3 separate regions of the Homo sapiens genome follow, and regions 1 and 3 are each linked to region 2. The links are contacts of gene promoters, found by promoter capture Hi-C in human tissues and cell types (Jung and others, 2019). All regions are on one chromosome and are shown on one strand. The core of a region is centred on a gene start or on the middle of the fragment in contact, and the rest is flanking DNA. Distances in the headings are between cores, read along the strand shown. Region 1 holds the start of KIAA1755. Region 2 overlaps CTNNBL1 (catenin beta like 1). Region 3 holds the start of TGM2 (transglutaminase 2).

What was found. Contacts are between HindIII fragments. The study calls those that stand out against the background at their distance.
Region 1: the fragment with the promoter of KIAA1755 here is called in contact with a fragment that was not itself captured in region 2 in 2 of the 25 tissues and cell types used here (H1 embryonic stem cells and heart left ventricle).
Region 3: a contact is called between the fragment with the promoter of TGM2 here and a fragment that was not itself captured in region 2, in 1 of the 25 tissues and cell types used here (dorsolateral prefrontal cortex).

The regions. Positions count from the first base shown.
Region 1 is chr20:38,259,249-38,263,369 of GRCh38, reverse strand. KIAA1755 reads left to right here and starts at 2,635. Exons shown (of 14, transcript NM_001029864.2): 1 at 2,635-2,872. The coding sequence starts at 2,870. It overlaps LOC149684 (a long non-coding RNA gene), which reads right to left and starts at 3,195. Exons shown (of 2, transcript NR_104170.1): 1 at 3,014-3,195. RefSeq lists an enhancer at 2,378-2,877. The HindIII fragment of the contact is 8,345 bases long and covers 1,454-4,121 here.
Region 2 is chr20:37,766,462-37,770,802 of GRCh38, reverse strand. It overlaps CTNNBL1 (catenin beta like 1), which reads right to left. Exons shown (of 16, transcript NM_030877.5): 7 at 2,759-2,850. Among named protein-coding and RNA genes, the nearest start is that of CTNNBL1, 75 kb to the right of the region's middle. The HindIII fragment of the contact is 4,841 bases long and covers 204-4,341 here.
Region 3 is chr20:38,162,096-38,166,519 of GRCh38, reverse strand. It overlaps TGM2 (transglutaminase 2), which reads left to right and starts at 1,250. Exons shown (of 13, transcript NM_004613.4): 1 at 1,250-1,331. The coding sequence starts at 1,322. RefSeq lists a silencer at 958-1,397. The HindIII fragment of the contact is 7,409 bases long and covers 1-4,424 here.

The DNA of each region.
Region 1 (4,121 bases), core at 1,386-3,885, 490 kb before region 2:
CCTGACACATATAAAGTTCTACTTTGGTGTGTTTGTTTGTCTTAATGTAATTCCATGTGTTCAAACGTTTCCAACTCTTTCCGATAACGAGACCCCCCAGAGCATCCTACTTACTCCAGTGCTTTCCAGAGGATAGGCCCCAGCCTTCGCATTGATTCTCTGACTGCCAATCCATTCTTTTCTGCTTAATTAACTCAGAATCCGCTTCTGTTGCCTGCAACCCCAGAACGCTGGCTGTCATGTCAATTCTGTCTCATGGCAACCTGGGACTCTAAAACCTTCAAGCTGTGACCCCACAACTCTCAGTGGAATTCTGTACTGAACATCAAGTCTGTTCTCTCCTAAATTCACATCTGGAGTCATGATACTAAAACCATCCAGACCATCTCCTGTAGAGAGAGTTTACTTGATTGCTGGGCTGTGGAAATATTGCAGGGGATTATTAGTCCCAAATTAGTGATAAGCAAGTGAAGGTCGGGGATGTGAAGGAACTTATCAAAAGTTGGGATAGGATGGCTCCTAATTCAGGTTTTCTCTGCTAAAAGACTGATTAACCTATGTGGGGTGGGAGATGGGCTGTGAATAAGGCTTGGGTCTGAACTCTAACCCTTACAACTACACTCGTCTTTTTCAGTTCTTCACTTACTCCCCAGCTCCTTTAAGCTTAATATTGCCTCAGAGCCTTTGCATATGCGGTTCTCTCTGCTTAGAACTTGGTTCCTCTGCGTCTCCCCATCTCCACTCTTCTAATTCCTCCCCTTTCAGATCTAGGCTTTCAGACCCAGGCTTCCTAGACCACCAGCTATAAGTTGATCCCTCTACTGTTCCCAATGTCAACATTTGTTTGTTTCCTTCTTAGCAGTTACCACAGTTATTATTTTTTTATTTTTCCTGTTTATCTGCTCCTTGCCTGTCTCCCCCACTAGACTGTACATTACTTGAGGGCCGGGACTCTCAAGTAATGTATAGTCTAGTGGGGGAGACAGGCTGACTCAGTGCACAGTGTTTGATAAATAAATGGACAAAACCCTGAGCCATCTAACCAGGAATAACTTTGGTCACTGTTTTAGTCTGGGCTGCTATAACAACATACCTTAGACTGAGGGGCTTATACACAACAGAAATTCTCTTCTCACAGTTCTGGAGGCTGGGAAGCCCTAGATCAAGGCACAAGCAAGTTGGGTGTTTGGTAAGAGCCTTCTTTCTGGACCTTATGTTTCTGGGCCTTTCTGGTTCATAGACAGCCCCTTCTCGCTGTGTCCTTCCATGGTGGAAGGGGCAAGGCAGCTAGCTCTCTGGGGCCTCTTGGGCACTAAGCTGGGCATGGTGGCTCACGCCTGTAATCCCAGCACTTTAGGAGGGTGAGGTGGGCAGATCACCTGAGGTCAGGAGTTCGAGACCAGCCTGGCCAACATGGCGAAATGCAGTCTCTACTAAAAATACAAAAATTGGCCAGGTGTGGTGGCGGGTGCCTAAAATCCCAGCTGCTCGGGAGGCTGAGGCAGGAAAATTGCTTGAACCTGGGAGGTAGAGGTTGCAGTGAGCTGAGATCATGCCACTGCACTCCAGCTTGGGTGGGCAACAGAGTGAGACTCCATCTCAAATATATATGTGTGTGCGTGTGTGTGTATATATATGTATATATGTGTGTATATATATGTGTGTGTATATATATGTGTGTGTATATATGCCTATACATATTAGTGCCTATATATGTATATATATAGGTGTATATATGTATATATATAGGTGTATATATGTATATATATAGGTATATATATGTAGGTGTATATATATATATAGAGAGAGGCACTAATCCCATTCGTGAGGGCTCTGTCCTCTCATGACCCAATCACTTTCCAAAGGCCCCACCTCCTAATGCCATCATACTGAGGATTAGGTCTGGACATACGAATTTGGGAGGGGACACACACATATAGACCCTAGCGGTCATCTAGTTTCTTAGTCTCACTCCAAAGCTGAGGCTCAGTAGGAAATACCGACTTGGCCAAGGTCATTATCTGAGAGTCAAGAACAGAACTCGCACACAGCCATCATCACCTCAAAGCCTTGAATTAGGCCGTCATGATGGGGCATAATGTGGGAGAATTCAAGGGCGCTGGGACAGATGCTTACTCCTCATCACCAAATCTAAGCAGCAGGCACTATCATCATCATCATCATCATCATCATCATCATCATCATCCTCCTCCCACCCCATTTTACAGATGAAGAAATCGAAGCTTAAGAGAGTCTGTGACTCCCTGGGAAGTGTAGGAGGAGGAGACTCGAACTTGGGCCTGCCAGCGAGGTCCGCGGGCGCTTAACCCGGCTGCTGCGGCTCGAGGCCTCGCTCTGCGGGTCTGTACAATGGGGCTGTCCGGGCCGGGTGCGCCGTGGGAAGAGCGAGGAGCGGGGAGGAAAACTTGGCGGGGCGGACTCGGGTTCCTCGGGTTCCAGCTGGCTGCTGAGGGGGTGGACGGAGGGAAGGGGGGGCGGTGGGGGCGGGGCGCGCGGGCTGGGCACAAAGGGCTCAGGCACAAAGGGGCCGCTGTCCCGCCGCGCCCCGCCCCGCCCCGCCTCTGCTGCCGCCCCCCGTCTGGTGGCCCGACCCGCGCCGCCCGCGGCTCCCTTATGTCTCTCGCCGTCTCCAGCCTCAGTCCCTCTCTGTCTCTCTCTCAGTCTCTCTCCCTGTCCTCCCCGGCCGCTCCTCCGAGATGACGCCGGGGTCGGTGCCCCGGGCCTGCCCTATCCCCTGGCTCCAGGGCTAGGCGGGACCGAGGGCTGCCCCAGACAGACGGACCCGCGGACCCACAGACCCCGCGCCCAGGAGAGGAGCCGCGCCGCCCGCCGCTGGCAGCCCGTCACCATGGTAACGCGCCAAGGCCTGGACCACCTCGCTCTGCCCCCTTTCAGTGGGCACAGCCCTCCCCATTCCCTGCAGAACAGCCCCGGGTGGCCCTGGCCTTTTACACTGAGACGACCCTCAGTGCCTTGGCAGGGTTGTGCTTACCTGCTTCCACCCCAGCAGGGGTTCAAGGGCAGGAGCCCATCTCTGGCCGCGTCCTCTCCTGGCTTCTCCATGTGTGTGTATGGATGGAGTAAGATTGTACTTGTAAACTTTAATATTCCCCAACCCCTAGACCTGAGCCTGAATCTCAGCCCTGAGGCTGAGGGCTGAAACGGGGTGGTTTTGCATGTTTGTTTTGGAACTGACTGTGATATGCACATTGTCCCGGCAGGGAGTTTGGATGGGGAAGAGTGGTGGTGGGGGTTAAAGTCCCCTCCCAGGCCAGCCAGGCAGTGCAGGGCGAGGAGGGTTAAGGGTCCAGGGTGAAAAGGAGAGAACTGCTTACCAAAACTTGGGATGCTTTTGCTGTTTTAGACTCAGCTATGGAAAGTCAGATATACACATTGAAACCCAGGGTGCTTCCATGGGAATTGGCTGGGGAGAGGGAAGAGGAAGGGACTTTTGGAGCTGGAACCTTGAAAAAAGTTGAGACATTCTGGGAGAATGTGTGTGTGTGTGTGTGTGTGTGTGTGTGTGTGGTGGTGGTGGTGGCAGGGATGCGTTTGTGCCAGTATCTGGCAACAGGGAATGAAAGAAAAGTCTGTTTTTGGAGGATTTCAGCCCAGCTCCAGACAGATACAAGAGCCCCAGGCAGATTCACAGGGGCTGTAAGGATTTTGAAAAAAGCTGTGAAGACAGGCCAAGGCTTTAACCCTGTGACTGTGACCAACCATGTTGAATTTGTGTGGGTTTTCACTCACAGCAAATGCATCTCCACAAGCAGAAGAATTCCATATAGAGGTGTTCATACTCTCTCTCTCTCTCTCTCACACACACACACACACACACGCAGGCACTCACACACACGTACACATGCACACACACGTACACATGCACACACACATACACATGCACGCACAGAGCACACCTGAATGCTCCCACTGACTCACACAGCTGAACACATGTTCACACCCTCTCATACACCCATGCCTTCTGCACCTGCTCCCCCATACTGCTAAACTATGGGCATACATTGGCATACACACCACAGACATATTGCAAAACCGGGCACCTACATCCATGCACTGCGGGGACAGGTGTACACACACAT
Region 2 (4,341 bases), core at 1,375-3,874:
CAGTAAAAAACCCAAATAGCATTTTGATGTTTAAATATCCCTAAAAGCCTGAAAACTGTTTCAGAGACAGCAACATGGCTATTTGTGCCCCGAGGATTACATCAATGCAGTGCCTATGTGGCAAGAGTCAATAGCTTGCTAAACTATCAAATGGGCCCCTTCATTATGATCATAAGGGTAACGGCATCCAAGCCAAACACTCAAAAGTCAATTTCCCTTCCTATGTTACCAATTAAAAAAAAAAAAAGACTCTGGCAGAAGACATTCTAGTTTAATGAAGATCCCTGAATCAGTATTAAGTCTCAAGTAACTTGGAAAAATCTGTCCCGACATAACAGAGACAAAAAAACTATTGAATTATTTTGTGTATTTCAAGGTTGCGTCCCTAACGTGTGGCTACTCCCCCAACAACTCAGGTCCCTGACATCTACGCCATCCCCTTAAAACTCGGTGCTCTACTTTCCTCTCCTCCACTGGTTGTTCCCAAAATGTCTCAAGGCTTTGGAGAATAAAAAATGTGTTGAATACTGAGGAAAGAAGAAACGGAGTTTAGAGAGATGTAAAGGAAATTAAATGAGAAACAAGTCTAGTTCTAAAACCAAAGGATATTTAGACTCAAGAGAGGAGGTCAAAAGGAAGTTGCAAATGACAATGCCTGAATTAACTACTTGCTGGATGCAAGACTGAAAGGCAAGAGGGATGGGGTTTGGAGGGAGTTAGAGTTTACTGACCTCTGCTAGGCAAATGTGCTCATACTGATGGTAGCAGCTGGGCTAGCTGAGCATCCTTGGGCCAATATGTTATGTAAATCAAGGTTACAGATTTAATGGGAACAAACGGCTGAATAAGTAGGATTGGAGAAGACTAGAGTGTCAGAAACGGAGAAAACCATGCAGCATATGATATCTTAGGCAGAACCTTCTCCTTTAGCCCTGCCAAGACAGTGGAGGACAAATCTGACCTGATACACCCCAGACTTTCTGGATGCTTGTGACATTCTGAAGCAGAGCAAGGCCATTACTTAGAGCATTACTTTAGTTACAAACAAGTGCCTCCTTCTCACAAAAAGTTAGGATCCTTGCCTGCCTGAGGGCCATTTCAATAGCATATAAGCAGTTCCAAACTGCCTCCCATCACACCTTTGGTCCAAACTGTTCTGAGAGGAGCTCTTGCCTCTTCTTTTTCTCATTTACTCTATTAGACAATACTAACTGTTAAAAAGACAATCACAAGGACTATGCTAAGAGAATGAACAATTCAATAGAAATATGGACAAAGAATATAAATATGAAGCTAAAAGACATGAATACAAATGGCTAATCAACAAGAAGCCAACACACTTCACTTGATGTTAAAATTACAAATTAAAATAATACCAGTTTTCACTATCAGATTAACTAGAAGCAGAGGGAAACAGATAACTCTAAATCAGTGGGGCAGCTGATTTATCAGTGGGATATGATAAATCAGTGGGAATAATTTTGCAATACTACAAAAAATGTTAAGGTGCATAGCCTTTGGCCTATCAATTCTACTTCTATGAATTTATCGTACAGATAAACTGAGACAAATGTATATTTTAAAAAGTCTGTATACAGCAGTCCCTCCCTTATCTGTGGGGGATAGGATCCAAGGCCCCCAGTGGATGCCTGAAACTACAGATAAATTCTGTATTTACTATGTTTTTTTCCTATATATGTACCTATAATAAAGTTTAATTTATAGGCCAGGCACGGTGTTTCACGCCTGTAATCCCAGCACTCTGGGAGACCAAGGCGGGTGGATCACTTGAGATCAGGAGTTCGAGACTAGCCTGGCCAACATGGTGAAACCCCGTCTCTACTAAAAATACAAAAATTAGCCAGGCGTGGTGGCGCACACCTGTAATCCCAGCTACTCGGGAAGCTGAGGCAGGAGAATCACCTTAACCCGGGAGGCAGAGGTTGCAGTGAGCCAAGATCATGCCACTGTACTCCATCCTGGGCAACAGAGTGAGTGAGACTCAGTTTCAAAAGAAAAAACAAAAAAACAAAAAAAAGTTTCTAAATTAGGCACAGTAAGAAATTAACAACAATAATAAAATAGAACTATTATAACAACATACTGTAAGAAAAGTTTTGTGAATGTGGTCTCTCTCTCAAAATACCTTTTAGTACTATATTTACCTGTTTTCAGACCATGGTTAACTGTGAGTAACTAAAACGCAGAAAGCAAAACCACAGATAAGAGGGGACTACTGTATTCACAGCCGCACTGTTTATAACACTACAAACTTACCAGTGGGAATGATGAGATTAATTTTGGTACATCAGCATAGTGGAATACTAACTAGGCAATAATTAGTTCAGTGAGAAAATCAACTTGCATAAGAAAATATTACATAATTCTGTTTGTGAAACACACACTCTCTCATATACACAGAAAATTTCTGAGAGAATGGATATAATATTGTTAACAGTGACTGCCTCTGAGAAGTGGAACTACAAGGGATCAGCAGAGGGGATCTTTTCAGTTTTATACCTTTTGTATCACATGAATTTGTATTTATAACGTTTGTATTTTCAGAGGTACTAAAGACTATTTTTAAAGCCTCTTGTTTTAAAACGAACAAAAACGGAGAAGAAAGAAGCAAGAGGTACCAGAAGCTTCCCAAACTAGATCATATGGCCCAGCATAACAGTCTATGCCAATAACCCAGCATCAATCAAGCCCAGAGCAAAGACAGGTGTGAGCTGCAGTTCCCCACAGCCAAACTCACCTTCAGCCTCTTCAACAGCCACTGTAGAAGACCCTGCTGGGCACCCTCTGTACACATCTCAGGCCGGAACTCAGCCATGTTTTCCACAATAGCTGAAGGGAGACAGACACCAGTCATTTGGGAGGACAACTTTGTTTCCATCTGCAACAAGCTTGCTTCCCATGACAGGCATGTTATTCCTCTCCCCACTTCCCTGCATTACTCCCAGCCAGATGCTGGGTTGTCATTTTCAGATTAACCAGGGAGTTGCTGTGGTTTTCTTCTTCCAGTTATGCTACAGGTAAAACTCATAACTGAAAATGATGGAACTCACAAAAGAGCTAAGTGATAGATTTTCCATGCTAATAGGGAACAACACTAGAGCGGAACACACAAAAGGGTGGGTATCTACCTAAGAAGTCCCACCCAGTCCCTAATGAGTCCCAGAAACCCATAACCAAAGAGATTGGGAGCTAGGCAAAAGCCTTAGGGAAAACTCAGGGTCTGGTGAACTCAAGAGTCGCTTCCTTTCCTGATTCATCCATTTGCAGTTCTATTTCCCTGCATCAGGTGGAAGCAAGAATATTGCAAAGCAGGCAAGCATGGTCTTTTTAATTGAACAAAATAACATGCACAGAGGGGAAAGGCCATGCTGGCAGAGGTAACTCCCAGGTACTAGGAAGCAAATATAATTGGTCCTGCTATCTCCTACAACAGCCAAAGTGTTGCTTAATAGAAAAATTAAAAATTAGGAGGAAAAAAAAGTTATTGCATGACTATGATACGAAAAAGGAGATCTCTTTTTTTTTAATCACCTAGAGTCCTTAATATCAAATGGTTTCATTTCTTTCAGCCCCCCTTCCAATCCGTATCCTGGAATATGTTACTAGCATGAAACAGATACACTTCTGTGTTCCCTAAACACAATACCCAGAACACATTGGGTGTGAATTTTGAAGGAGAAAGGGCTGAAGAAATCACCACACCTCCTGTCTTCTTTCTCACTCCTTTGCCCACATCAGCCTCCCCAGTGGCAAGTTAAAGGATGACCAGGCAGGGGAAGCACGAAGCTGTGGGAGCAGAGGAGCAAGGAAACCCTGAGAGATGAAGAGCACTACGACACCCTGAATTACTTTCTGCCATTTCCTACAAAAATCAACTCATTCGTTTTAATCTTCCATGACTTTATCCTATTCTTCTGCTTATATTTTAGATGGCTTCCTATTGTTCACTCGAACAAAATCCAAGCTTCCTGCCATGGTTTACAAGGTCTTCCATTATCTGGACAAACTTATTCCTCCAGTTCCATCTCCCACCTCTGACTGTCACAGGCCATTTCTAGTCTTTCCTCAAATCCCAGCCCCATTCATGACTTTGCAAATGATACTCCCCTCATGAAGGCCCTTCTCCCACTCCTCCACCTGTCAAAATGCACCTGTCTTCATATTCAGCCACAGTCATGCACAGGAGCTAGCTGCTCCTATCCAGCAATTTGGAGGCTCTTCCTCTTCATTCCCACAGTGCTTTTCACTGACTCCTACGATACCGTCTGTCACCCAGCATTGTCTTTCCTTTCTTTTCAAGACTCACCTATCTGTCTGCCC
Region 3 (4,424 bases), core at 1-2,500, 400 kb before region 2:
GCTCAGGGCTCACAGTGGATCCGGAAGCACAGGAGACCAAGAGACCAGAGATACCAGGATGAGAGATAGGACCCCTGGTTGCCAGGTTCGAGAAGTCCTAGGCTGAGTCCCTGGAAAGTTAGTCTTGCTCCTTTCTGGCACACAGTGGGGCCTCAAGAAAGCTCAGTGGATGGATGGATTGAGGGAGGGAGGGAAGAGAAGGCCGAGGGAGGGATGGATGAAGGGATGAGTGGATGGATAGGTGGGGGGGTAGGTGATGCATGGGTGAGTGGATGGATGGGTAGATGGATGGCTGATTAGATGGATGGCTGATTAGACAGATACAAGGATGGGTGAGATCGGAGGATTATCTGGGTTTTGCTACAGGAAGGGACATGGGTGTGTCTGTTTTTGCAGGTGTGTCTGCATGTCTGTACCTGAGTCCATGCCTGCATGTGTGTCTACCTCTGAGTAGCCACATCTTTGTGTGTCTGTGGGTGCCCTCTCTGATTTTGCGTCCACATCTGACAGTGGCATTGGTGTCTAGGAGGTCTGTGTGTGTGCCAGGTGCCTCTGGACACCTGCTCATCTGTGTCCACAGCTGTGTGTGGCTCGCGGTCAAGGCTACCTGGCTGTGTCAGGCTGTATCTATGTCCTGGTGTGTGTCTGCCATTCGAATCTGAATTTGTATCCATGTCACTGTGTCTGCGTGGCCAGCCGTGTTTGGTGTATCTGTGGGAGTGTATCTGTGTTTGTGTGTGTATCTCCACAGCCCTGTCTTGGTGTGTCTGCGTCTGCTCTCTGTGTATGTATATCTGAGTATGTGTGTGAGTGTGTGCGTGTGTGTGTGTGTGTGTGTGTGTGTGTGTTGGGGGTGGGGAGGTGTTCTTGATCCCAGATCTGACCTAAGAGTCCACATCTGTGTGTCCAGGTGCACCCCGGTTCCGTTGTGTGTTTCTATGAGGGTGCTGCGTGTGTCTGTATCTGAGTGTGTGTGTCCAGGTGTCTGTTCTCCAAGGTCTGAGTCTGTGGGTCCAGGTGTGTCTGTATCCTGGGCTAGTTGTGTGTCCCTGTCCGCTCCCCCAGGGGGCGCCCTCGTCCGGCCGCCGTCCCTCCCTCGGGCTCCGGTCCCCTGGGTGAGCCCCAGCGCTGGCGGCGTGGGCCCGGGACTGGGCAATGGGTGGCCTCCCAGGTCGCCGCCTTCCCGCGGGGCCCCGCCCCCGGCCCGCCCCAAAGCGGGCTATAAGTTAGCGCCGCTCTCCGCCTCGGCAGTGCCAGCCGCCAGTGGTCGCACTTGGAGGGTCTCGCCGCCAGTGGAAGGAGCCACCGCCCCCGCCCGACCATGGCCGAGGGTGAGTATCAGAGTCACCGCAGCCGCCACTCAGGGGCCCCGGGGCATTGGGGGTCAGGACCCGGTGGGAGCTGAATCCCTAAGTCCTGATTTGGAGAGCAACAGGCAGACCGGGCTGGGTGAGGAGGCGTCTCAATGCTGCTTGGAGCCTCAGTTTCCCCATCCACACTGCATAACCATTAACCCTTGCCTCCCTGGATCAGGTGAGGCAATGGAACGCGACGGGGTGTTGTAAACTGTAAAGTACTGTCCTGGCGGACCACTGGCACGTGTCCTCAGTCAGTCAGTGGGGGCTGGCTCTCTGATGTGTGCCTGGAGCTGTGCAGGGGGTGCTGGCCTGGCCTCAGAACACTTAGGTTTGGGTGGTTCTTGCCAGCCAGGACCAGGTGGTGTGCATGCCACGCCGGTGGTGTGCAAGCCAAGCCTGGCTGAGTCCTTGGCTCCAGCGGCCAGAGAGGAGCTTTCGGCATCCTATCCAGGAGCCTTCGGAAATCAGGCTTGTTCTTCCCGCCCTCACGTTCTGCAACCCTAGACCTTGGCCAATTGTTGAGTCTCACCTATAAAATAAGGACAACAGTGTCCTTATTTTATAGGACAAGGTTTATGAGATTTGTTTTCCCCCAAGACCCCCACCCATCTGTCACCCTGACCGTGCCCTGGTCCTCTGCTCCAGCCTTTGGTGCATCTGTGAGGAACGAGAGGAGTGGAACAGAGGCTTAACTAATTTCATACTGGTGCCCCTGACTCCCTCCCCACACACAAGCAGCACTCTCGTAGGTCCCAGCTGGAGGGATTTCTACAATGGAGGATGTCACTGCTGGACCCAGAATCCCAGCTGGCTCTTGGGTCAAGTTCATCTGGGGATGGCTTCTGCACCCATTGCAACCCCCAGGAAGGGGTGTGGGACAGGGACATGGGGCAGGTGGAGCAGGAATGGGTGGCAGGAACTGTGGACCCACCTGACCCTGCTGTGTGATCTCAGCCACCTGCCTCCCTCGGGCCCAGCTCCCAACACACTGTGATGTGTCGCCTCGGTGGCCGCTTGTCCTCAATGCATCTTCTCACCCCCATGCTCAAAAGCAGGGCTCAGTGGGGCTGGGAGATCCTGGAGATGCCAGTTATGATGAGCCTCCAGCCCCATGTCACAGTGGCCACTTCTGACAGAGGTCTCACTGGCCTAGAAGGCCTAGGCCCTTTCTAAGTGCAGAAATCCTATAAATCCTACAATTCTAGACCTGCATCTTTGGAGCTGGGCGTGATTTCTGGAAACCCTTCTTCGGACAACAGATGGAGAAAATGCCCCAGCTCCCACAGCCCAGGGACTGGCCGTATCTCCAGGGTCTTCCATGGGAACAACAATGGCCTCTTTCCTGCTCAAGCTCCCTGGGTCTGAAGTTTCCAAAAACATTTCCTCGCCGCAATAGGCCAGCAGGAAGTTTTTCCTTCTGGCCACTGAGGTCTCTTCTGTTGTGATTACACGGGGACCGACATCCCTGATACTTCAGTGGCGCAGAACTATCTGCCCCCAGGTTTGAGAACAACACAGGACATGGTGGCGAAGGGGTGGTCATAAGAGGGGCTGGAGAAAAAACTGAGCTGTAGTGAGGTGGTTCCCAGGGCAGAATCCTACAGAATCCTACAGCTCTGGATTCCAATCCCAAAGCAGCCACTTGCTCTGGGACCTGGAGCCACCTGGTGTCTTTGTCTACAAAATGGGAATCATGATAGCATCTATGTAAGCGGAGTTGTTTTGGGATTTAAGTCGAGATAATTCACATACAAGGCACTTTGCATCTCATTTTTGGAATAGTCGATGGTGAGCAGGAGACCTGGGCTCTCCCACTGCAAGGACCAACTTGCGGCGTGACTTTGAACAAATTCCTGCCCCTGGGCCTCACTTGGACCACATGCTGTCCAGTGGCTCCACACTCAGAGTCTGTCTTGCCCACTCCTCCCACCTTAAGGGCTTCCCCATCCTGACCTTGAGCTTGCCAAGGTTTATGAGATTTGTTTTCCCCCAAGACCCCCACCCATCTGTCACCCTGACCGTGCCCTGGTCCTCTGCTCCATCTGAAACTGTAAATGGAACTTTCACGTATCAAGCTTCTGTCCTGGGCTGGGCCGTGGGGAAGGGGGTTCCCAACACATCTTCTAGACTCACAGCAGCCCCTTGAGACTTCAGAGGAGGAGTCACAGAGAGGGAGAGACACTTATCCAGGCTCACACAGCAACACAGCAGAACTAAAACCTACCTCTGGAAGTCTCCAAAGCACCTATCATGTTAAAAATGTTTTGTTTTGGAGAATATTGAACATACACAAAAATAGACAGAATTGTTTAATAAATTCCTATGTCCTCATCACCCAGCACTGACCACCGTGGTGTCTCCTGCCCCTGCGCACCTTCATCTCAGACATCACATCATGTCATCTGTCAATGTTTCAGTATATGCCTTTAAAGGATAAGGACTCTCTTTTTTTTAACACAAACAAATTAACAAAAATTCTTTGATATCACCATTATGCCATCAGTATTTAAATTTCCAGTTGTCTCATACATGTAATAAATGTTTTAAAATACTTTTTTGAAATCAAGATCCAAATAGATCAATACATCACAACGGGTTTAAGTTTCTCTTTATAGGTTCTCTCTTCAATGTTTTTTTCATTTTCTTTCTTGCAATCTATTTATTAAAGAAACCGGACCCTTTGTCAATAATTTCCCAGTATATGAAGTTTGTCAACTGCATCCTGGTTCTGTGTTTAACTTGTTCCTCAGCCCTGGGTATTTCCTGTAAATTGAACATTGGATCTAAAGGCAAAGGCCATGTAATTGACCTGTACCAAATACTGCCCCTGCTTAAACCAAAAGAACCCTCTGATAGCAATAGAATAGCTCGTGTTTATTGAGTATTTATTACACAACAGACATTGTACTAAGTGTTTTACATGCATTAATTCATTTCTTGCTCACACCAGCCCTGGGAGGTAGATACTGCTGGTCCCATGGCTGCTGGAGGTCACACAGCTAGGAAGTGCCACAGGGGGTCACGACCTTGTGATTAAAAGATTTAGGCAAAGCTGGGCACTGTGGC